6 separate regions of the Homo sapiens genome follow, and regions 1, 2, 3, 5 and 6 are each linked to region 4. Evidence: promoter capture Hi-C in 16 types of primary human blood cells and fetal thymus (Javierre and others, 2016). All regions are on one chromosome and are shown on one strand. The core of a region is centred on a gene start or on the middle of the fragment in contact, and the rest is flanking DNA. Distances in the headings are between cores, read along the strand shown. Region 1 has its middle 58 kb from the start of ABCB5. Region 2 has its middle 76 kb from the start of ABCB5. Region 3 has its middle 130 kb from the start of ABCB5. Region 4 holds the start of MACC1 (MET transcriptional regulator MACC1). Region 5 has its middle 100 kb from the start of ABCB5. Region 6 overlaps MACC1-OT1 (MACC1 3' UTR overlapping transcript 1).

The links. The method cuts DNA at HindIII sites, captures the fragments that hold promoters and counts their contacts. A CHiCAGO score of 5 or more calls a contact.
Region 1: a fragment that was not itself captured here is called in contact with the fragment with the promoter of MACC1 in region 4 in 1 of 17 cell types (monocytes); the score reaches 6.3 in monocytes.
Region 2: a fragment that was not itself captured here is called in contact with the fragment with the promoter of MACC1 in region 4 in 1 of 17 cell types (monocytes); the score reaches 6.3 in monocytes.
Region 3: a contact is called between a fragment that was not itself captured here and the fragment with the promoter of MACC1 in region 4, in 1 of 17 cell types (monocytes). The highest score is 6.7, in monocytes.
Region 5: a fragment that was not itself captured here is called in contact with the fragment with the promoter of MACC1 in region 4 in 1 of 17 cell types (monocytes); the score reaches 6.7 in monocytes.
Region 6: a contact is called between a fragment that was not itself captured here and the fragment with the promoter of MACC1 in region 4, in 1 of 17 cell types (M2 macrophages). The highest score is 5.7, in M2 macrophages.

The regions. Positions count from the first base shown.
Region 1 is chr7:20,556,029-20,559,575 of GRCh38, reverse strand. No RefSeq gene overlaps it. Among named protein-coding and RNA genes, the nearest start is that of ABCB5, 58 kb to the left of the region's middle. RefSeq lists an enhancer at 1-94. The HindIII fragment of the contact is 1,127 bases long and covers 695-1,821 here.
Region 2 is chr7:20,537,815-20,541,868 of GRCh38, reverse strand. No RefSeq gene overlaps it. Among named protein-coding and RNA genes, the nearest start is that of ABCB5, 76 kb to the left of the region's middle. The HindIII fragment of the contact is 6,913 bases long and covers 1-4,054 here.
Region 3 is chr7:20,488,270-20,491,857 of GRCh38, reverse strand. No RefSeq gene overlaps it. Among named protein-coding and RNA genes, the nearest start is that of ABCB5, 130 kb to the left of the region's middle. The HindIII fragment of the contact is 6,088 bases long and covers 1-3,588 here.
Region 4 is chr7:20,215,232-20,218,963 of GRCh38, reverse strand. MACC1 (MET transcriptional regulator MACC1) reads left to right here and starts at 1,580. Exons shown (of 7, transcript NM_182762.4): 1 at 1,580-1,665. It overlaps GIRGL (glutamine insufficiency regulator of glutaminase lncRNA), which reads right to left and starts at 1,387. Exons shown (of 4, transcript NR_134569.1): 1 at 1,342-1,387; 2 at 601-708. RefSeq lists an enhancer at 556-1,755. The HindIII fragment of the contact is 5,395 bases long and covers 1-1,646 here.
Region 5 is chr7:20,513,306-20,516,940 of GRCh38, reverse strand. No RefSeq gene overlaps it. Among named protein-coding and RNA genes, the nearest start is that of ABCB5, 100 kb to the left of the region's middle. The HindIII fragment of the contact is 2,918 bases long and covers 888-3,635 here.
Region 6 is chr7:19,955,137-19,958,980 of GRCh38, reverse strand. All of the region lies in intron 5 of MACC1-OT1 (MACC1 3' UTR overlapping transcript 1), which reads left to right. Among named protein-coding and RNA genes, the nearest start is that of MACC1-OT1, 180 kb to the left of the region's middle. The HindIII fragment of the contact is 1,094 bases long and covers 1,163-2,256 here.

The sequences.
Region 1 (3,547 bases), core at 9-2,508, 340 kb before region 4:
TTGGTCCAGCCGCAGCTTCACAGGGAGCCGACACCTGTGTTGGCGCCTACAGCTGCGTGTCCCTCGGCAGCCAGTGTGCCTGGCTGTGCACAGTGGCCGGACCCCACGTTTGCTCACCCACACACCCCTCGCCACTCTGCATGTGGCTCACCTTTAGCAGGCATGGGATCCGGGCTGGTAGCATGAGGTGAGCGCAGGCTGCCGGGCAGAGTGGGCAGAATGAGCCCAGCAGGCTCAAGCAAAACTCGGGCAAGGACACCACCGGTTACAGAGCTTTTCCCGCTGGAAAAGAAACACCCTAAGAATCCTGTGACATAAGCATCCGATTACTTTTCTTCTTTATTTATAACTGAAAGAGGCAAGTGCAGTGTTTACAGTTTTATGAGTAGTTGCCGTAGGCATCAGTGATTGAAATTGCAAAAGCACAAATATAAAACTTTCCAGGTGTTGCAAATGAAGACCATATGTGAGATAAAGCTGTAATATGATTAGAATACAGGTTAAAGGATGACACTGATTTTTAAAGGCTGCAGTTACAGTGAAATTTTCTTTTAGGTAAATACAGTGATTTCTGACTTTATTTGCTTTTGTGCACCTCTTGTATATCGCACCTTGTATATTTATTTACAATAAGTAATATACTTGGAACTGTCTTACCAACTAGTTTCCAATTTTGTGAAAGTTACTCCAAGCTTTCCTTTTAGGAGTTTGTTCTAGTGTCCCAGATAAAGTTTCCCTGAACTTGATATTTTTCCCCCTCAAACTAAAAACAAAACAAAAACAACAAATGAGCCACTTTTAATTGATATATAATATACAAACAGAAAAGTTTATGCAAATCATTCACGTACACTGAGTGGATTTTCACAAATTGTACATGATACATAACTAGCAACTTAGAGCACCCCTTTATATTTCCTTCTAGATGCTCACAAACTTTTGTATACAAAAGCAAAATTAGCCCACTAGCCTCCTGTTGCATCATTTCAAAGTTTAGAATTTTTACCCTCTTTTAGGAATTGACTACATTTTAAATTAGACTGTATATTATAGCAGAATGAATTTCTCTGCTTATTCTATAAATAGTTGCAATTACACTGACATTCTTCTCAGAGCTAGGTGCATCCACTAGTGCGCAGAATGTTTTTATCAGCTTGAAAACTCTGCCCTTGAACGTGAAGCCTATCTAAGTTTATTTGGTCAGATTAGCTGTTATATATTAAGATTGCATAAAGATTAACCAAGATTAAGTATTTCTTTTGTAGAAACACATAGGTATAAAAGTATATACATTTAGAAGTAAAATCTGGCAACTTCTTTTCCCTCTTTTTCTCTTGAGTCTTTAAATATTTTTATGAAATATTAACTGTTACTCTATATAAGAAGAAAAGTAAGAGTCCAGTAATGGTGTTTCATATTTCATAGTATAAGCAGTTTTTTTTAACTAGGCTTTAGTTGTCTGTCATTAGCTGTTGTACAATAATCCTGCATCTGTATATATTACTATGTATTACTACACACATAACAATATATAATATTGTATGTATATATAATATATAAATAATAAACTTTGTTTATATTTAAAGCATTTTAAAAGAATTGCTAATGTTTTCTTACTGCGTCTTCTTAGAATACCTTAATATACCTTCCTCCAAAAGGTCATCTTTTAATCTCTTAATCTAAAGTACTTAGTTTCTTGGTTTTATTGTTCTCCCTCAGAGCAAGTATCCAGTTCTTTTCCCATATAGTACTTACCATAATGTGTGAGAAAAAAATCTGAACTTACTACTTAATATCAGGCTTCCTCAGTAGACTCAAGCTTGTAGGTTAGAGACCTGATCGTGTTTGTTTTGCCCATGGGTATATTTGTAGTGCTGAAACTATATTAATCATGTGGTACAGATTCAATGATATTTGTTGCATGAATGAATGCTTGAACAATATGATTATGTTTTCTTTTTAAAGGGAACACTGCAACTGTTGAGCCTAGGTAAAATTATGCAAGCTTAATTTTCTGACTTCCCAAGCCTGTTTGCTCCCTGTTCTTTCCCCCTGCTCTGCTCATTTCAGTGTCCTCTTCAAGTCTTTTCTTTGCATGATCAGAGCCATCTGCCTTCTAAGCAGAGCTCAGTTACACTGGATCCCTCACTAACCCTGAGTCTGAACCTTAGGATCCTCTTACTTCCTTCCCTCTGGCTCTGTCTTTAGGCCACATTTAGAGAACCAAGCTTCAGACTTTTCTGCAGACTGGAGCTTCCTATCTGTCATGTGGAGGTAGAGGGTTACAGATGTGGTGCGTGGTCAGAGCCTTTGCTATGAGTAGCTTCATCCATTTCTTCTCAGGATAAAAATACCATGATTTTCTTTTTGTAGCAAGATGTAAGAAAGTTGAGATGCACTGTCATAGGTCTGTTCTCTGTCAGAATAAGCTTGCAAAAATAGCCTGGGACTCAGAGGCTACAGCCTACTCTTAAGCCCTGGCTAGGTGGCTGGAGTGCTATCCTCTGCAGATAGTCCTCTCTGGTGTTAGCTGTTAGCCTTTTCACATAAAAGTTGACCATTGCCATCGGTGGATTTCCTAGCAATGTTCAGCTTGTCTTATGGGATGCCCCATGGATTGCGATCGGATTCCTGCATGTGAACTGCTTACAAAGCATGGTTGCCATACTTCCTTGGCTGCCATATTAGTCATTCCCTTTGAATTCACAGTTCGGTTTCACCTTCCCTAGGTATTTCCAGCCCCAAATTGTGGTCCTCTTAAGTATACCTTTTGGGCAGCAGGGCAGTAATGGGTGATGCTCTGAGATGTGACATTCATGTTACTCACGTATTGTGTTCTTCACCTCTGCACCTCATTCATCATAATAGGAAAGCATTCCAAACTCATTTATGCTCAAATAGAATTGATTGAATTAGTTTCAAATATTACTATTTCCAGTGGTGCCTGAAGTTTGGCGTGGGTCAAAGCCTTATATCATGAAGGCTTCCATAAAGAGGAACTTTAACTGTGAAAATACAAGCCTCTGCTTGGAAATAGGGAGCTGTTTTTCTGGACATTTGGCTTTCCTGTTACTTCTAAGATGCTCTCTGAGGTGCACTGCCTCCACAGCCCGTGTGGTTATGACATTTGATCTATTATTTTCAGTGCTTTGAGACACTGAAAGGGCCTGTGGCTCCGGATCCCTTTAAGAGAAGAGTTGTATTGGCCTGGTATTACCAATTTGCATATAAAAACAAATCCTCCAGAAGATAGCAATAAAGATTAAGCAAGCATGTGTGACCCAGCAGAAGCAACACGCAAGGCAGGGAATCAGGTTTTGCAGACTCAGGCATGACATCTTGCCACATTCAACTAATTATAGAATAGTTATTTAAAGAAAATACCGTATGTAAATTATTTATTAACAACATTATTACCAAATTAAAATTTTAAGAAATTGCTTTTATTTATTTATTTTTATTTTTTATTATACTTTAAGTTTTAGGGTACGTGTGCACAATGTGCAGGTTTATTACATATGTATACATGTGCCATGTTGGTGTGCTG
Region 2 (4,054 bases), core at 495-2,994, 320 kb before region 4:
TATTAAGCCCCATACACATTAGCTATTTATTCTGATACTCTACTTCCCCCTGCCCCCTTGACAGGCCCCAATGTGTGTTGTTCCCCTTTCTGTGTCCTTGTGTTCTCATTGTTCAGCTCTGACTTATAAGTGAGAGCATATGGTGTTTGATTTTCTGTTACTGTGTATGTTTGCTGAGGATGATGGCTTCCAGCTCCATCCATGTCCCTGCAAAAGACATGATCTTATTCCTTTTTATGGCTGCGTAGTATTCCATGGTATGTATGTACCACATTTTCTTTATCCAGTCTATCATTGATGGGTATTTGGGTTGATTCTGTTTCTTTGCTATTGTGAGTAGTGCTGCAATGAACATATATGTGCATGTATCTTTATAACAGAATGATTTGTATTCCTTTGGGTATATACCCAGTAATGGGATTGCTGGGTCAAATTGTATTTCTGTTTCTAGGTTTTTGAGGAATTGCCACACTGTCCTCCACAATGGTTGAACTAATTTACATTCCTACCAACAGTGTAAAAGTGCTTCTGTTTTTCCACAGCCTCACTAGCATCTGTTGTTTCTTGACTTTTTAATAATTGCCATCCTAACTGGTGTGAGATGGTATCTCATTGTGGTTTTGATTTGCATTTCTCTAATGATCAATGATGTTGAGCTTTTTTTCATATGTTTGTTGGCCACATAAATGTCTTCTTTTGAGAAGTGTCTGTTCATGTCCTTTGCCCACTTTTTAATGGGGTTGTTTTTTTTTTTCTTGTACATTTGTTTAAGTTCCTTGTAGATTCTGGATATTAGACCTTTGTCAGATGGATAGTTTGCAAAAATTTTTTCCCATTCTGTAGGTTCTTTGTTCACTCTGATGATAGTGTTTTTTGCTGCGCAGAAGCTCTTTAGTTTAATTAGATCCCATTTGTCAATTTTTGCTTTTGTTCCCATTGCTTTTGATGTTTTCATCATGAAATCTTTGGCCGTGCCTATGTCCTGAATGATACTGCCTAGCTTTTCTTCTAGGGTTTTTATAGTTTTGGGTTTTACATTTAAGTCTTTAATCCATCTTGAGTTAGTTTTTGTATAAGGTGTAAGGAAAAGGTCCAGTTTCAATTTTCTGCATATGGCTAGCCAGTTTTCCCAGAACCATCTATTAAATAGGGAATCCTTTCCCCATTGCTTTTTTTTGGTCAGGTTTGTCGAAGATCAGATGGTTGTAGATGTGCGGTCTTATTTCTGAGGTGTCTATTATGTTCAATTGGTCTATGTGTCTGTTTTTGTACCAGTACCTTGCTGTTTTGGTTACTGTAGCCTTGTAGTATTGTTTGAAGTTGGGTAGTGTGATGGTTCCAGCTTTGTTCTTTTTGCTTAGGACTGTCTTGGCTATATGGGCTCTTTTTTGCTTCCACAGGAATTCTAAAGTTGTTTTTTTTAATTCTGTGAAGAATGTCAATGGTAGTTTAGTGGGAATGGCATTGAATCTATAAATTACTTTAAGCATATGGACAGTTTCATGATATTGATTCTTCCTATCCATGAGCATAGAATGTTTTTCTATTTGTTTGTGTCCTTTCTTATTTCTTTGAACAATGATTTGTAGTTCTTGAAGAGGTCTTTCACTTCCCTTGTTAGCTATATTCCTAGGTATTTTATTCTCTTTGTAGCAATTGTGAATGCGCAGTCATTCATGATTTGGCTCTCTGCTTGTCTGTTGTTGGTATATAGGAATGCTTGTGATTTTTGCACATTGATTTTGTATCCTGAGACTTTTCTGAAGTTGCTTATCAACTTAAGTTTTTGGGCTGAGATGATGGGGTTTTCTAGATACAGGATTATATCACCTGCAAACAGAGACAGTTTTACTTCCTCTCTTACTATTTGAATACCCTTTATTTCTTTCTCTTGCCTGATTGCCCTGGCCAGGACTTCCAATACTATGTTGAATAGGAATGGTGAGAGAGGACATTCTTGTCTTGTGCCTGTTTTCAAAGGGAATGCTTCCAGCTTTTGCCCATTCAGTATGATACTGATTGTGAGTTTGTCATAATTGGCTCTTATTATTTTGAGGTATGTTCCATCAATACCTAGTTTATTGGGAGTTTTTTATATGAAGGGATGATTAATTTTATTGGAGGCCTTTTCTGCATCTATTGAGATAACCATGTGGTTTTTGTCTTTAATTACGTGATGAATTATGTTTATTAATTATTTAAAAATTATTTAAAATAGCATTGTTGGCTGACTCAGGTAGCTGCTGCTATTTTTGATGGTTTTTCATATCTTGTTTAAAATTGAAACCCCTGTAGTGTGGTATGTGTTTGGGGGTGGGGTAGATTCACAGTTTAATACATATTTATGTTGTAATTCAGAAATACCATATATTCTCCAATTAGGTTCTCTTTCATTTCCTGGCTTGCTGAACTATTGGAGACTTGAGCATTGTTGAGCTTCACTTCCTCGTAAACACCTCTGCCACCTAGTGGACTACTTGAAATCACTTAGGTTGACTCTCTGGGTGTGTTTACGCACCAGTATGTAAAGGGTTCAAATGTTACAGGGAGCGAACTAGGAAGTATAACTGGAGATGACTGTGAAACCTGGATTTATGTGTCGCCTCATGCTAAGATGAATTGAGTGGTTAGCCTGTACTTAGGTAAAATGTATTTTGTCTCCTGAGGTCTCCACACTCACAGGGATAGGCTTCCGCACTCTTTTTTTTTTTAATTATTATTTTATTATTATTGTACTTTAAGTTTTAGGGTACATGTGCACAACGTGCAGGTTAGTTACATATGTATACATGTGCCATGCTGGTGTGCCGCACCCATTAACTCGTCATTTAGCGTTAGGTATATCTCCTAATGCTATCCCTCCCCCCTCCCCCCACCCCACAACAGTCCCCAGAGTGTGATGTTCCCCTTCCTGTGTCCATGTGTTCTCATTGTTCAATTCCCATCTATGAGTGAGAACATGCAGTGTTTGGTTTTTTGTCCTTGCGATAGTTTACTGAGAATGATGATTTCCAATTTCATCCATGTCCCTACAAAGGACATGAACTCATCATTTTTTATGGCTGCGTAGTATTCCATGGTATATATGTGCCACATTTTCTTCATTCAGTCTATCATTGTTGGACATTTGGGTTGGTTCCAAGTCTTTGCTATTGTGAATAGTGCCGCAATAAACATACGTGTGCATGTGTCTTTATAGCAGCATGATTTATAGTCCTTTGGGTATATACCCAGTAATGGGATGGCTGGGTCAAATGGTATTTCTAGTTCTAGATCCCTGAGGAATCGCCACACTGACTTCCACAATGGTTGAACTAGTTTACAGTCCCACCAACAGTGTAAAAGTGTTCCTATTTCTCCACATCCTCTCCAGCACCTGTTGTTTCCTGACTTTTTAATGATCGCCATTCTAACTGGTGTGAGATGGTATCTCATTGTGGTTTTGATTTGCATTTCTCTGATGACCAGTGATGATGAGCATTTTTTCATGTGTCTTTTGGCTGAATAAATGTCTTCTTTTGAGAAGTGTCTGTTCATATCCTTGGCCCACTTGTTGATGGGGTTGTTTGTTTTTTTCTTGTAAATTTGTTTGAGTTCTTTGTAGATTCTGGATATTAGCCCTTTGTCAGATGAGTAGGTTGTGAAAATGTTCTCCCATTTTGTAGGTTGCCTGTTCACTCTGATGGTAGTTTCTTTTGCTGTGCAGAAGCTCTTTAGTTTAATTAGATCCCGTTTGTCAATTTTGGCTTTTGTTGCCATTGCTTTTGGTGTTTTAGACATGAAGTCCTTGCCCATGCCTATGTCTTGAATGGTAATGCCTAGGTTTTCTTCTAGGGTTTTTATGGTTTTAGGTCTAACGTTCATGTCTTTAATCCATCTTGAATTAATTTTTGTATAAGGTGTAAGGAAGGGATCCAGTTTCAGCTTTCTATATATGGCTAGCCAGTTTTCCCAACACCATTTATTAAATAGGGAATCCTTTCCCCATTGCTTGTTTTTCTCAGGTTTGTCAAAGATCAGATAGTTGTAGATATGCGGCGTTATTTCTGAGGGC
Region 3 (3,588 bases), core at 587-3,086, 270 kb before region 4:
TAAAAGTAGCCACCTTTCCAACCTGCCTGTTATTCATCAGCAAGCTGACTTATCAGGTGAGTTAGATGTAAGTCTGCTATGTCATCAATTTCAGGGGACACATTCAAATTTTTGTGTATTAAAAGCAGTACTTTTAATATTCAAAAAATCTGGTTATTTTGTAACTTTAATAGGGATAGGAGTTTAAAATCATGTCACAAGTTTTGGGATATTTTCTTTGAAGGTTTCTGTCTTAGTCTGAAATCTTTTATTTCTTGTTGTCTCCTAATAAACTTCCAGAGTTTATGAATATAACAGTGTATTAGAAAATCACACACAAGAATGAAAGAGGCTTTGTCCAATGTATGTGAAGATGATGTCATTAAATGTTAATGCCAAAGGATATTTTTGCAGACATTAAAATGCAATAGAGATAACATCCCAAAACCAGGTGCAATTAATTAAGAACAGATTTGGTGATGAAGTCTTCTTGGAAGATGGCCATGGCCAGGCCATGAATCCTCACTAGTTGTACCCCATCCTAGAAGAAGACAACTCCAGATTTATGTAGAGGTGGTTGTATTAGTCTGTTCTCACACTGCTATAAAGCAATACCTGAGACTGGTTATTTAAAAAAAAAAGAGGTTTAATTGGTTCATGGTTCTGCAGGCTGTACAGGAAGCATAGCATCTTCTGCTTCTGGGGAAGCCTCAGGAAACTTACAACCATAGCGACAAACAAAGGGAAAACAGGCACATTTTACTTGGCTGGAGCAGAAGAAGAGAGAGACGGGGAAGGTGCCACACACTTTTAAAAAACCAAATCTTGTGATAATTCACTTACTCTGCAGTCTTAAGTGGGATGGTGTTAAACCATGAGAAGCTGCCGCCATGATTCCATCACCTCCCACCAGGCCCCACCTCCAACATTGGGGATTACAATTCCACATGAGATTTGGGTGGGGACACAGATCCAACCTGTATTATTCTTCTCCTGGCCCCTCCCAAATCTCATGTCCTTCTCACATTTCAAAATACAGTCATGCCTTCCCAGCAGTCCCCAAAAGTCTTAACTCATTTCAAGCATTAACTGAAAAGTCCAAAGTCCAAAGTCTTGTCTGAGACTAGGCTAGCCTCCTCCACCTGTAAAATAAAAAACAAGTTAGTTATTCCTAAGATACAATGGGGATACAGGCATTAGGTGAATACTCCCATTCCAAAAGGGAAAAATTGGCCAAAAGAAAGGGGCTACAGACCCCCAGTAGGGCTGGATTTCAGACTTGCACAGGGCGTGTAGATATGTATGTCTATCTCCAATCCAAGGTATATAAGGTTTATTTGTATATAAAGTATATTTTTATACACATATTTATAAATATATACACACACACACTTTATACCTTTTTCATCTCTTTACTTTCTATGTGTCTTTACATATAATTTTCCTGTAGTAATATATACATATTACTTATATATATTATATTATACTATGTATAATTTTCCTGTAGTTATATATGTATAAAAATACTTTGACATATAATAAAAGTCAAATACTTGGAGATAATAGGATTCACAAAGTTTGGAGTAAGGATGTCATTTCTAAAGAAATTGCTTTTTAAGTTTAACAAACCTCTATTTAAGGGATATTCTGACTTAAACATGTAGTTCTAAAATATCATCTAAGTAAAAATATCTTAGAGAATTTGTAAAATAAATGTAAATTTAACATCACTTATTAGATCAATAAATATTCAGCATCAACATTGTAGTAAGCATTACTTTAGATTCTGGGAATACAGCAGTAAACAAAACAGATGAAAATTATTGTAATTGCTTTATAGTTTTATTCCATTGTTGTCTGAAAATAATCTTGATATAATTTTGGTTTTTAAAAATTTGCTGGGGCTTGTTTTGTGGTCTAATATATGGTCCATCCTGGATAATGTTCTATGTGCTGATGAGAAGAATGTTTATTCTGTGGCTATTGGATAAAATGTTCTGTAAATGTGTTAGGTCCATATGGTTTTTAAAGTATAGTTTAAATTCAATATTTCTTTGTTAATTTTCTGTGTAAATAATCTTCCTAATGCTGCGAGTAGGGTGTTGAAGACCCCAACTAATAGTGTATTGGAGTCTATTTCTTCCTTTAGATCTAATATTTGCTTTATATATCTGGGTGCATCAAAGTTGGGTGCATATATATTTTGAATTGTTATAGCCTCTTGCTGAACTAATTGCTTTATCTTTATATGTATCCCCATATTTATATAATGATAAAAGGATTAATTCAGCAAGAGGATGTAACAATTCTTTGTCTCTATTTATTGTTTTTTACTTAAAGTTTCTTTCATCTGACATAAATATAGCTACTCCTGCTCACTTTTGGCTTGCATTTGCATGGAATATCCTTTTCTCTCTCTTTACTTTCAGTATATATGTGTCTTTACAGATAAGTTTCCTATAGGCAGCATATAGTTGGATCATGTTTTTTAATTCATTCAACCAGCCTATATTTTTTAAGTGGAAAGTTTAATTCATTCACATTGAAGATTGTTATTGATATGTGAGAGCTTATTACTGTATTTTTATTAATTAATTCCTAATTGTTTTTTATATTCTTTGTTCCTTCCTTTGTCTCTTATGTTTGTCATTGTGATTTGATGGTTTCTGTAGTCTTGACATTTGTGTCCTCTTTCTTATTTATGTGTTTTCTCTACCATTGGTTTTCATAGTTTTGTGTGTTTTGTTCATGGTAGGTATCATCCTTTTGCATCTAGGTGTAGCATTCCCTTAGGCTTTTGAAGTAGGACTGGTCTAGTGGTGATAAATTCCTTCAGCTTTTGCTTGTCTGGGAAAGACTTTATTTTTCCTTCATTTATAAGTAATAAGTATTCTTGGCTGATTTTCTTTTGTCTTTCAGTTCTTTGAATATATCATCCTGTTCTCTCCTGGCCTGAAAGGTTTCTGCTGAAAAATTTGCTTAGTCTGATGAGAGTTCCCTTACAAGTGACTAGATGCTTTTCTCTTACTGTTTTTAGAATTATCTCTTTGTCTTTGACTTTTGACAATTTGGCTATAATGTGCCTTAAAGAAGACCTTTGGTTTATATTTATTTCAGGATCTCTGAGCTTCCAGTATCTGGATGTTTAAATTTCTTGCTAAACTTGGGATTTTTTTCAGCAATTATTTTATTAGTGGACTTTTAATGTTTTTTATATTCTCTTCCCCTTCTTAAATTCCCAACATTTGAATATTTGGTTGCTTTATTGTTTCCCACATGTCACAGAGACTTTCTTCATTATTTTAAATTCTTTTTTGTTTGTTTGTTTCTGACTGGGTTATTTCAAACGACCTGTCTTCAAATTTAGAAATTGTTTCTTCTGGCCAGGTGCGGTCGCTCACACCTGTAATCCCAGCACTTTGGGAGGCCAAGATGGGTGGATCACGAGGTCAAGAGATCAAGACCATCCGGGCCAACATGGTAAAACCCTGTCTTTAATAAAAATACAAAAAAATTAGCTGGGCGTGGTGGCATATGCCAGTAGTCCCAGCTACTTTGGACGCTGAGGCAGGAGAATTGCTTGAACCTGGGAGGTGGATGTTTCAGTGA
Region 4 (3,732 bases), core at 331-2,830:
CATTAATGAGTTAATGAAGTAGGGATACAATGAGGCCTTGCCTTCAAATAGGAATGTAAGACTGCATAGGTACACACACACCCATGTAAACCAATGAAATGAGATATACAATGTGTTATGAGAGGAGCAGATGCAATATTATGAAATTGATTAGGAGGAAGAGAATAACTCAGATTAAGACAAACTGAGAAGGACATCTTGAAGAGTGTTTTTCATTGAGCTTTGGAAAAAATGAAATCTCTGAACATTTCAAGATGAGCAAAAATGGTTTCAGGGAGGAGAAATGCCATGCAGAATGCCCTCTGTAGGGTTTGGGGAAATTAAGAACCATTTGTTTTGGAAATAATATAATGACATAAAGGAAAGCTAGGTTCTAGTAGAGAGTTGAGGAACCTGTGACAAAAAGAAACAGAACAGCTCAGTTTGGATTGTGGGATGAGTCAAGGGGAAACTTCAAAGGGAATCTGGGTGGATTAGGTGATCTGGCAGCATGAAGCCAGGGATGCATCAGGGAGGAAGGGGTGGTTAGAACAGTAGGAGAGAAAGTGCAGAAAAGGGAAAGGAAACTTTTTCTTTGTCACCATTCTGCCATCTACTTACATTAGATGAATCCTTCTATTATGTTTCTGAACCCAGACCCAGCCAGGACTTGTCTCTATTCATTTTCTGGGCTGTGTCTAACAGGAGATAATAGGCTAGAGAGAGATGCTGTATGAACAAATAGAGAAACACATTTGTTTTAAACATTCTCTGTTGCTGATGTTGGAAAAAAATGTGAAACAATTATTGCACATTTCATTTCACTAAGTTTTACCTTTTTTCCCCTTTCCCCTAATTTTCTCTTTCTTGAATTTTGAACAAAATACACAGAAGGAAAACACAAAACACAGAAATGGAAAGTAAAATGGAAGAAAATATCAAGAAAACTTTATTCTTGCTTATATTTTAAAAGGCACATTTTAAAGTGTTATCTTAAAAATCCAGAGCATTTTAGAAGATGAAATGCCAAAAGGTCTCCATTATGTCTATATGTCTATGTCTTTGAGTGACAATCACAGTGCTGATGTAGAGGGAAAGGGGGAACTAGTTAGACACTGTCACTCACCTGGGAAGGCTTTATTCACCTGTTCCACAGGGCAGTGAGGCACCTTCAGCTCTGAATCACCGAAAGAGAATCTGGTGGGGCAAGTTCCAGCTGCATGAGGATTTGCTTGCATAAATATTTTTTACTTATTGCTAACACTGAGGGTGCCTTCTTACTCCCTGGCAAACATTAAACCACTTTTATTTCCTTTCATGGAAATAAGATTATATTTACAGATGGTTCTTAGATATACTCACCTGATTTTTTTTTAATTGCTTTTCCACCTGCTTCCCCTTTCTTCTTAGGGTGAAACTCTAGCCATACGCCCTCTTCTGGTTTCGGGTGAGGAGCCTGAATTGTGGGTATCGTAGTTCTCTTGCCTTTTGGGGTTTCTAGTTGGGCAGCTTTGGAGCCACAGTGGTAGAACTTCAAGTCCCAGGTGGCTCAGGAAGCAGGGGTGCAGTTGCCTGCCTGCATACGGAGCAAGGCATGTTTGAAGAGTACCCGGGTTTGGTAGAGTGACTTCTATTCACTAAAACCATGTGTCTGAACTGAAGAAGCTTGGGCTCACTTCCACAAATGTAAGTGCTGATTTTTTAAAAATAATATTCCTTTCACTATTGATATGTGCTACACACTAGGAAGTTGTATAATTTCCAGAAAAATGTAACAAACCAGCTGCTTAACAAATCAAGCCCTGCTTAAATAAAGGGAAGGTAACTGGTATTCTGTGGGCTTATGGGACATGTGTTAGAATAAACCTCATGACATAGAATAGAATAATACCTTGAGACATGGTTTAGAATAAAGTAGTTTATTTTAAAAAAAAGGAGGAACCCAGGTCACATTAACCATCAAAGGCAAAAACAAAACACTCTATGAGTTGCTTAAAATATGTAGATGGCTGAAATCCCCTAAAAACTTTAAATATCTCAAAAAGCATACAGGTATGTTAAAAAGACTGTGCTTTGAAGATAGATAAAGTTGCAATCAGCAGCCCCACTGCTTATTAGATTTATGACCATTGACAAGATGTTTCACCTCGCAAAGTCTCAGTTTCCTCATCTGTAAAGTGTGTGTGCATAACCTACCTCATTAGGTTAATAGCATTAAATTATGAATAAAAGATAATCATGTAATTAAGTTAAGGGGGTCATTAAATTAGCACAGTGCATTGTACTGAATAGACAGATGATACATGATGGAGGGTAACTTGGCTTCATCCTAATTAAGTTTCAATTAAGCTTGGAAAACACACCAAAGAAACAAAAAGACAAATACTGGATGATTCAACTTACCTGAGGTATCTGGAGTAGTCAAACTCACATAAATGATACTTAGAATGGTAGTTGCCAGGGGCTTGGGGGAAGGAGAAATGAGAGTTGTTTAATGGATATAGAGTTTCAGTTTACAAGATGAAAACACTTGGAGACTGTACAATAATGTAAATATATTTAATACTATTGAACTTAAAATTTGTAAGTGTAAACACTTACAAATGGTTAGGATGGTAAATTGTATGTTAAGTTTTTTACCACAATTAATAAAGATAGATTTTAAAAAATTTATTTTTAAGATCAAAAAGCATGTAGTGAAAATTCCAATGCCTTCCATTTATTAAAGGTCTTCCTAATTTCCTAAAAATGTCTTAAGTCTATATTCAGTGGGTCTAATTTAGGATTGATATTGACTTATCTATGTTAATGTCTGGTTTTTACATAGCAATTACTGGGTGATAATGATGAATTTCAGGTATATTCTTAAAGTTGTCTTAACCTCAGTGGTGATTCTTTTATGCCCCCCTGAACTTAATTACATGATTATCTTTTATTCATAATAGCGATTTTTAATATGATTTCATGGGTAGTGTACAGAATCTAGAAATTATGAAGTCATAATTATTAGTTACAATTTGCTTAAAAGCTTTAGTTATGACTCATTTTTAAAACTTAAAGCAAAAATATTATTTATTCCAGTTTTCTCAACTTCCTTGTAGCTAATTTACAAATAGAATATTTTTATCTGTTTGTGTTTTAGAGATAATAAAAACTATTAAGGCAAAGTTTGTTAAACACCATCTTATCTTAAAATGTATTGGCTGATTTGGAGGACAAAAGACATTTTGGAATTATACTAATTTTGAACTTGAAGACATGTCTGTTGAATTTTTAGAGAATTCTTTCTTGAAAGACCACACATATGCCTAGGTGTCTATTAAGACTAAACATCCCTTATGGCATTTGGTGATAAGTGAAGGTGATAACAACCAGCATTTCAGATGACTGTGCAGAGTTTTACATGTGATATGCCATATATTAATAAATGTAAACCCTATGTCAGCAAGTCCAGGATAGAATTAGAATGAAACTTGTAATTCTCCAAAGGTGGAGGAAAGCTGCAGAGGCACTGAACACTGTATACTTCTAAAAGGGTGGCTTTTTTTGTTGTTGTCAAGTGCCGTCTATGGTGTAGTGTCTCTAGGAAGTGTCATTCATTCAATTGACAAAGATTTCTAGCAATCCTGCAATATACTCCCCCTGGGCTGGGTTTAGAGGCTAGAAGAAACTCATGCACAGCCCTTGAGGGGATCCTTATCTACTAGCAGAGATATGACCTCATAAATAGTTAAAGAGAGTAAGTGCTAATTC
Region 5 (3,635 bases), core at 1,097-3,596, 300 kb before region 4:
ATAGAAATGGAATTTTCATTTGAAAATTTAAATTTTTTAAAAATTATACTTTAAGTTCTAGGGTACATGTGCACAACATGCAGGTTTGTTACATAGGTATACATGTGCCATGTTGGTTTGCTGCACCCATCATTTACATTAGCTATTTCTCCTAATGCTATCCCTCCCCCAACCCCCACCCACAACAGGCCCCAGTGTGTGATGTTCCACACCCTGTGTCCAAGTGTTTTCATTGTTCAGTTCCCACCTATGAGTGAGAACATGCGATGTTTGGTTTTCTGTCCTTGTGATAGTTTGCTGAGAATGATGGTTTCCAGCTTCCTCCATGTCCCTGCAAAGGACATGAACTCATCCTTTTTTATGGCTGCATAGTATTCCATGGTGTATAATATGTGCCACATTTTCTTAATCCAGTCTATCATTGATGGACATTTGGGTTGGTCCCAAGTCTTTGCTGTTGTGAATACTGCCGCAATAAACGTGTGCCATGTGTCTTTATAGTAGCATGATTTATAATCCTTTGGGAATATACCCAGTAATGGGATGGCTGGGTCAAATGGTATTTCTAGTTCTAGATCCTTGAGGAATCACCACACTGTATTCCTCAATGGTTGAACTAATTTACACTCCCACCAGCAGTGTAAAAGCGTTCCTATTTCTCTGCATCCTCTCCAGCATCTGTTGTTTCCTGACTTTTTAATGATTGCCATTCTAACTGGTGTGAGATGGTATCTCATTGTGGTTTTTATTTGCATTTCTCTGATGACCAGTGATGATGAGCAGAAAATTTAATTTAATGTGAAATTTCTGTTAAGGTTAAAAGAAGCAATAACCTACAAAAATCCCATTTGTAACTTAAAGGGACCACAAGGTGGTACAGAAAAGCTTCTGCAGGATGTAGCTCAATTCAGTGAGTTATTTTATAAGAGCAAAACTGTTAAAATTTTACTCAATATTCAACCTGAACATTTTGATGTATATTGTAATTTTCAATATTAAAATGCTTCATCTATTATGTGCTTTTCTTCAATCTCTTTTGAGACAGTTACAGAATATACTAGAAAGCCTTCTATCATCTATTGTCTGTTTAAATATTCCCTGAGAATTTTAGTATTTGGGGTTTTTATCATTTGTCAATGACATATGATACTGTGATTAGTTGATGTAAATATTCTTTGATCTTCTAATTTAGTCAAGGCTTGTCAAAATGGTAAGGAGAACTGAAGAGGCTCTTACCAGCCAAAGTGCCACTCCCCTCAGCCAGTCAGAAGGGCTTCTCTTACCTGGCCATATTTCCTCCATTAGTGTCACTGCTTTGGGTAGAACAACAAAGTAAGGATGCTAACGCCCTGGTAGGATAAATTTATTGGTTACCTGGGAATGGAGGAGAGTGCTGAGAAAGTCCTCTCCCTTCCTCCATTCAGCATTGCCAGATCATGTCTTAGGTGAACTCTCTTTTAAACAATTTAGAGTGTTTCTGGTAGCATATAAACATTTTTTACTATTTGATTTTTTAAAATCTAAAACATTTTTGTGGAATTTTTTGTTTGCTTATTTTGATGTGGGAGAGGGGATTGAGATTGCTTTTTAAATGATACAGAGCCCAAACTGGAAATTTGTTTTTGCTATTTACCAGCTATGGTATCTTTGGACGAAACATTTATTTCTGTGGAGCTATTACAATCTCCTTTGTAAAATGGAAAAAATAACGTTCGCTCCACCTACTTGATAGAATTTTTGTGGTCATCAAATAATATGCTGTGAATAAAAATACTCCATAGGCTGCAATATTTTCTTTTCACGGGTGACTCTGTTGAATCTACATTGAAATAGCTTTATCAGAGTTCAAAGCAGAAAAAAAAATTTCTGTTATAACTTATATTTTAAAACTTGCTTTTTTGAAGAGGGTTGCAAAATACCTTTTTGATATTTTATAGGTTTTTCTTTACAAAAATATGTTTATTTTGAAAAATAATAGAGATAAGCAAAAATGTTATTAAAAATTGTTCAAAAAATTGTTCATAGCCCTAGCATTCAGAAATAACAATAATCTGTGATTATCCACAAGATGGTACTTGGGGGAGGGGCATATGAAATCAATCCTTTCCATGGTGCTGGCCTGGAAGCATGGCAGAAGGTTTTTTGAATTTCATTAAGTGACTTCTAGGATCTGTTTTTGAAGACAGCAAAAAATATCTACAAAATTTTATTCTAGACATTACCAATCCTGTCTTTAGTCCTTGTATTTGGTATCATTACTCTGTCCTTGTGGGAATAAGCCTTAGCTGCCTATGCTTTATAGAAGAAAAATCCAATTAATCACTATAACTGCATCCAGCTCTCCAGCTGGCTCATTGCCAACTCTCTGCCACTTAGCTGAGGCCAAATTAGACTAATAGTTTTGTGCACTGAACAGTGAGACTTTCAGCTTCTTATGATGATTCATGTGTTACAGCTGCAGTTCACGCTCGTTAACAATATCTGACTTTTCACTGAACCACAGAGCTTCCTTTCCTCACAGTTTATCTTTTGATAAGATTTTAACTCTGTTTTCTAGATGGGGATTTGAAAGTTAATAAAATTCATAGACTTCAAGAAGTCATTCAGAATAGAGTCGATTGCCAGAAAATTAATTATTTTAAATTTTTGCCAATATTCACATTTACAAAATATATGCTTCCTCTGAGAAAATACTTTTTCTTGTTTTCAGATAAATTATTTGTACCTAAATTTTTTTTACTTGGAATTAAAACTTCCCAAATGTGTCCTTTCTGAAAGTTTTGTTGTAAATAAGCCATAAGTTTACTTTTATGATTTTAGGAGTATTTATGAGTATTATTTCATCTTGCATTTACCCAGTAGGCTCTGTTATGTGAGCACATTATGAGAGGAAATGACAATTTGTTCAAATCAAAAGGTTAAGAAACTAAGTGTATATTCTTATCAATATCCCTGAAGTATTTTATTTTAAAATGTTCAAAAGTAAAAAGAATAACCTTATATTATCAAAACATAATACATTAATTAAAATTATGTAGTATCAAATATACCATCAAACAAAAGTTTTTAATATTTATCTGGTATAAATATATTAAAACAGACTTAAATTTATAACAAAAATAAATATAGTTAAACATAGAAGAAATAATAAATGCATTGTATTAGCTTTAAAGAAATATAATGTGTTTGTGTAAATGTTTTCAAAAATCGTGCCCATATTTTTTAACAAACAATTTTAACTTAAATCAATAGTGTACTTTCCTTGCTCCTAGTGGTTTTGGATGTGGTTCTTGAGTATAGTCTTCTCTAATATGGCAGATAAATCAATCTGACCTTCTTTTCAACATTCACAGTTGAATGAGGAGAGTATAATTTTTCCAGTCTGCAGCTGACTTCTTTATTCATTTGTTAAGATTATGGTTAGTCTTTGTAGTGGATTCTGTGGCTTGGTTCCCTTAAACATGTATTCCAACCTCTTTCTTCTGGGACGTCTAGTACTGTAATGCTTGGAGATTAAAAAGAAAAAGTAAAGCATTTCTCAGATGTCCTTGTGGCTAAGATTTCAGTTGTGATTTGGGGTCCTCCAATCTGGTACTTTGATGGTCAACTTGAATTTTGAACTAAGTTAATTAGGA
Region 6 (3,844 bases), core at 460-2,959, 260 kb after region 4:
AAATGGGCTTATTGTGTGAAAAATAATAACAGTGAAATGCTCATATGAAATTTTATTGTAAAACTGTTTCATAATTAGAGTTTTATCAGATGTTATATTGTAGCATTAGCAAACTGGAACATGCAGTACTAAATATCAGCTGTAAGGGTTTTGGTAACTTCCTAAACTCTTTATAATTAATGACTCTTAAAAATGTTTGTAGTGTTATTTTTATTATGTCACCAAGTCATTAATATTTCAACATGGTAATAATCCAACTAAATGTAATTTTCCAGTTAAAACCACAGTAACCAAGGTGCCTTTTCAGTTAATAACAACATTGCCCAATATAAAAAAAATACTTCCTGAGAATTCCTGTAAAGCAGGATTTCTCAACCATGACACTATTGACACTTTGGGGCAAATAATTCTTTGCTGTGTGAGCTGTCCTGTGATTGCAGGATGTTTAGTAACATCTTTGGCATCTACCCGCTAAATGCCAATAGCACCTCCTTTCAGTTGTGACAACCAGAAATGTGTCCAGATGTTGTTAAGTGACCCATGGCTTGGTTGAAAATCAATGCGGTAAGAGCATAAACGTACCCAATTCTTAGGTGGCAAATAGTATACCCTTTGGTGGTTGAGTTAGCCTAAGAGTAAACCTAACTTTGTGGTCCTGAGTCACTCTTCCTTTTAAGTCATATCATCTTATCTAACTCATTCTAAATCTAGCCTATTTCTTCAACGTGCCCCATTTCTCAGCATTACTAATTTTGATGATTGAGTGCTTAAATGGATTTATAATTCAGACTGGCTCTGTCATTTGCTATAGGTGCACTTTACAAAAATACCACAATTTAAATGACTTTTTTTGTAAGCATTACAAAGGGTAACAGAGACTGCATGTTTACAACAACCATACAAATATATTTTAAAATGGTGTTTCTATTCATATCTCTGGGGTCTGTATCAATAAATAGGTATATTATTAGAAGTCACAAGGAAAATTAAGAAACACCAGAGAATGAATTGGCTCAGCCATGCTTATATCTTCTTGGCATACTGGGCTATTATCTTTCTGAATCTCCTTCACTGCCCCACTTTTTATTTAGTCTGACTCATTTTCTCAGGGATGAATTTATTAAAACAAAAACACACAGGCCTTTCAAATTTTGCTGAAGCTTCATTACAGTGGAGATAGGATCTAGAGCATCTGATGACAGAATCTCTTGCTCTCTCTCTCTTTCCCTCTCTGACACACACACACACACACACACACACACGCACACAATTTCCTGTGATACTAGAAAGCAATGATATATAAAATTTAAAAGTTAGAAAAACTATTTAGGTATTTTTAATGACGAAGAAGAAATATGAAATTCATTTTTTATTAGCACCAACCAGATGTGAGTATACATAAAATAGACAAATTGAGGAATAAAGTACTCCCAAAGGTAAACTGTATTGAAACCCATTATTCTCTGCATTCTCATTTGTTTTAAAAAAATGTATATATATATTAAAAACTTTACACTGTGTGATTTTAAAATACTGGATTCTAAAGTTAGCATTTATGGGGTATATACGAGTTGTGAAAATTTTCTTGATGACAGTTATTACAGGCACCTGTAATCCCAGCTACTCGAGGGGCTGAGGCAGGAGAATTGCTTGAACATGGGTGGCAGAGGTTGCAGTAAGCCAAGGCTGTACCACTGCACTCCAGCCTGGGTGACAGAGTGAGACTCCATCTCAGTTAAAAAAAATAAAAGCAAGGCTTGGGAAAGATACAGAACACTTTTGAAAGCCCTCAATAACATTACTTATCTGAGAAGTGCTCTCATTGTGCACTATCTACTATATCTTTCTGATTAATTCCCTTTGGTCATCACACATAAATCTGACTAGTATGTGCAACTGGTTACAGGTTAAAATTATCTTTGCAGGCTTCCTACCATTTAATTCTCAAAACAACTATATTTTGTGTAAAAGCAAACTCCCTTAGAGAGGCTAAGTTACTTAGTTTGCTAGTAACTGGTAATGGCAGGATTTGAACACAAATGCTCTGAACACCAAATCTCCATCTCACTTGTGTTTTTCCCTAGTCATCAATCTTATAAGAACTGTGTATTAGGCCATTCTCACATTGCTATAAAGAAATATCCGAGACTGGGTAATTTATAAAGAAAAGAGATTTAACTGGCTCAGGATTCTGCAGGCTTTACAGGAAGCATGGTGCTGGCATCTGCTCACCGTCTAGAAAGGCCTCAGGAAGCTTACAGTCATGGCAAAAGGCAGAGGGGGAGCAGGCGTGTCACTTGGCAAAAGCAGGAGCAAGAAAGCGATTGGGGTGGGGAGGTGCCACATACTTCTAAAGGAACACATCTGATGAGAACTCACTATCACAAAGACAGCACCAAGCTACGAGGGATCCACCCCCATAATCTAAATACCTCCCTCCAGACCACACCTACAGCACTGGAGAATCTAATTTAACATGAGATTTGGATGGGGTCATGTATTTGAACTGTATCATTTCACCCCGGCCCCCTTCAAATCTTATGTCCTCACATTTCAAAATATAATAATCTCTTCTCAGTAGTCCCCCCAAAATCTTAACTCATTCCAGCATTAATCCAAAAGTCCCAAGTTCCAAATCCACAGTATTATCTGGAAATGAGTTTCTTTTACCTATGAGCTGTAAAAATAAATAAATAAATAAATAATAAGTTAGTTGCTTCCAAGATACAGTGGGAGTTCAGGCATTGGGTAAACATTCCTGTTCCAAAAGACAGAAGTCATCAAAAAGAAAGGGGCTACATGCCCCATACAAGTTCAAAACCCCATGGGGCAGTCATTAAGTCTTAAAGCTCCAAAGTCATCTCCATTGACTACATGTCCCCCATCCAGGGAAAATGGGTGCAGAAGGTGGGCTCTCAAGGCCTTAGGCAGCTCCACCTGTGGCTTTTCAGAGTGCATACCCCAAGGCTGCTCTTACAGGCTGGAGTTGAGTGACTGCCCCTTTACTACATGCAGAGTGCAAGCTACTGGTATATCTACCATTCTCAGGTCTGGAGGATGGTGGCCTTCTTCCCACAGTTTCACTAGGCAATGCCCCAGTGGGGACTCTGTGTGAGGCCTCCAACTCCACATTTCTCCTCCACACTCCCTTAGTAGAGGCTCTCTGTGAGGGGCTCCATCACAACAGCAGGCTTCTGCCTGGACACAGAGACTTTCTCATATATCCTCTGAAATCTAGGCTGAGGCTACCAAGGCTCAACTCTTACACTCTGTGTACCTGAAAACTTAACTTTACATAGAAGCTGCCTAAGCTTACAGCATGCACCCTCTGGAGCTATGGACCAAGCTATACCTGGGCCCGTTTGAGCCAAGGCTGGATCTGGAACAGCCAGGATGTAGGGAACATTGTCCTGAGACTGTGCAGGGAAGCAAGGCCCTAGGCCTGTCCCACAAAACCATTCTTCCCTCCTAGGCATTCAGGACTGTGATGAGAGGGGCTGCTGCAAAGGTCTCTGAAATGCCTTCAAGGCCTTTTTCCTATCATCTTGGCTATCAGCACTTGGCTCCCTTTTAGTTATGCAACTTTCTCTAGCAAATGGTTGCTCCAGTAAAAGCTTTTTCTTTCTCTGCCACATGACCAGGCTGTAAATTTTCTAAACTTTTATGCTCTGCTTCCCTTTTAAATATAAGTTTCAACTTTAAGTTATTTATTTGTACCCTCATCTGAAGTTAGGTTGTTAGAAGCAACCAAGTCACATTGAAATGTTTTGGTTCTTAGAATTTTTTTCCACCAGATACCCTAAATTATCTGTGAAGTTTAAATTCTCACAGATCCCTAGGAAAT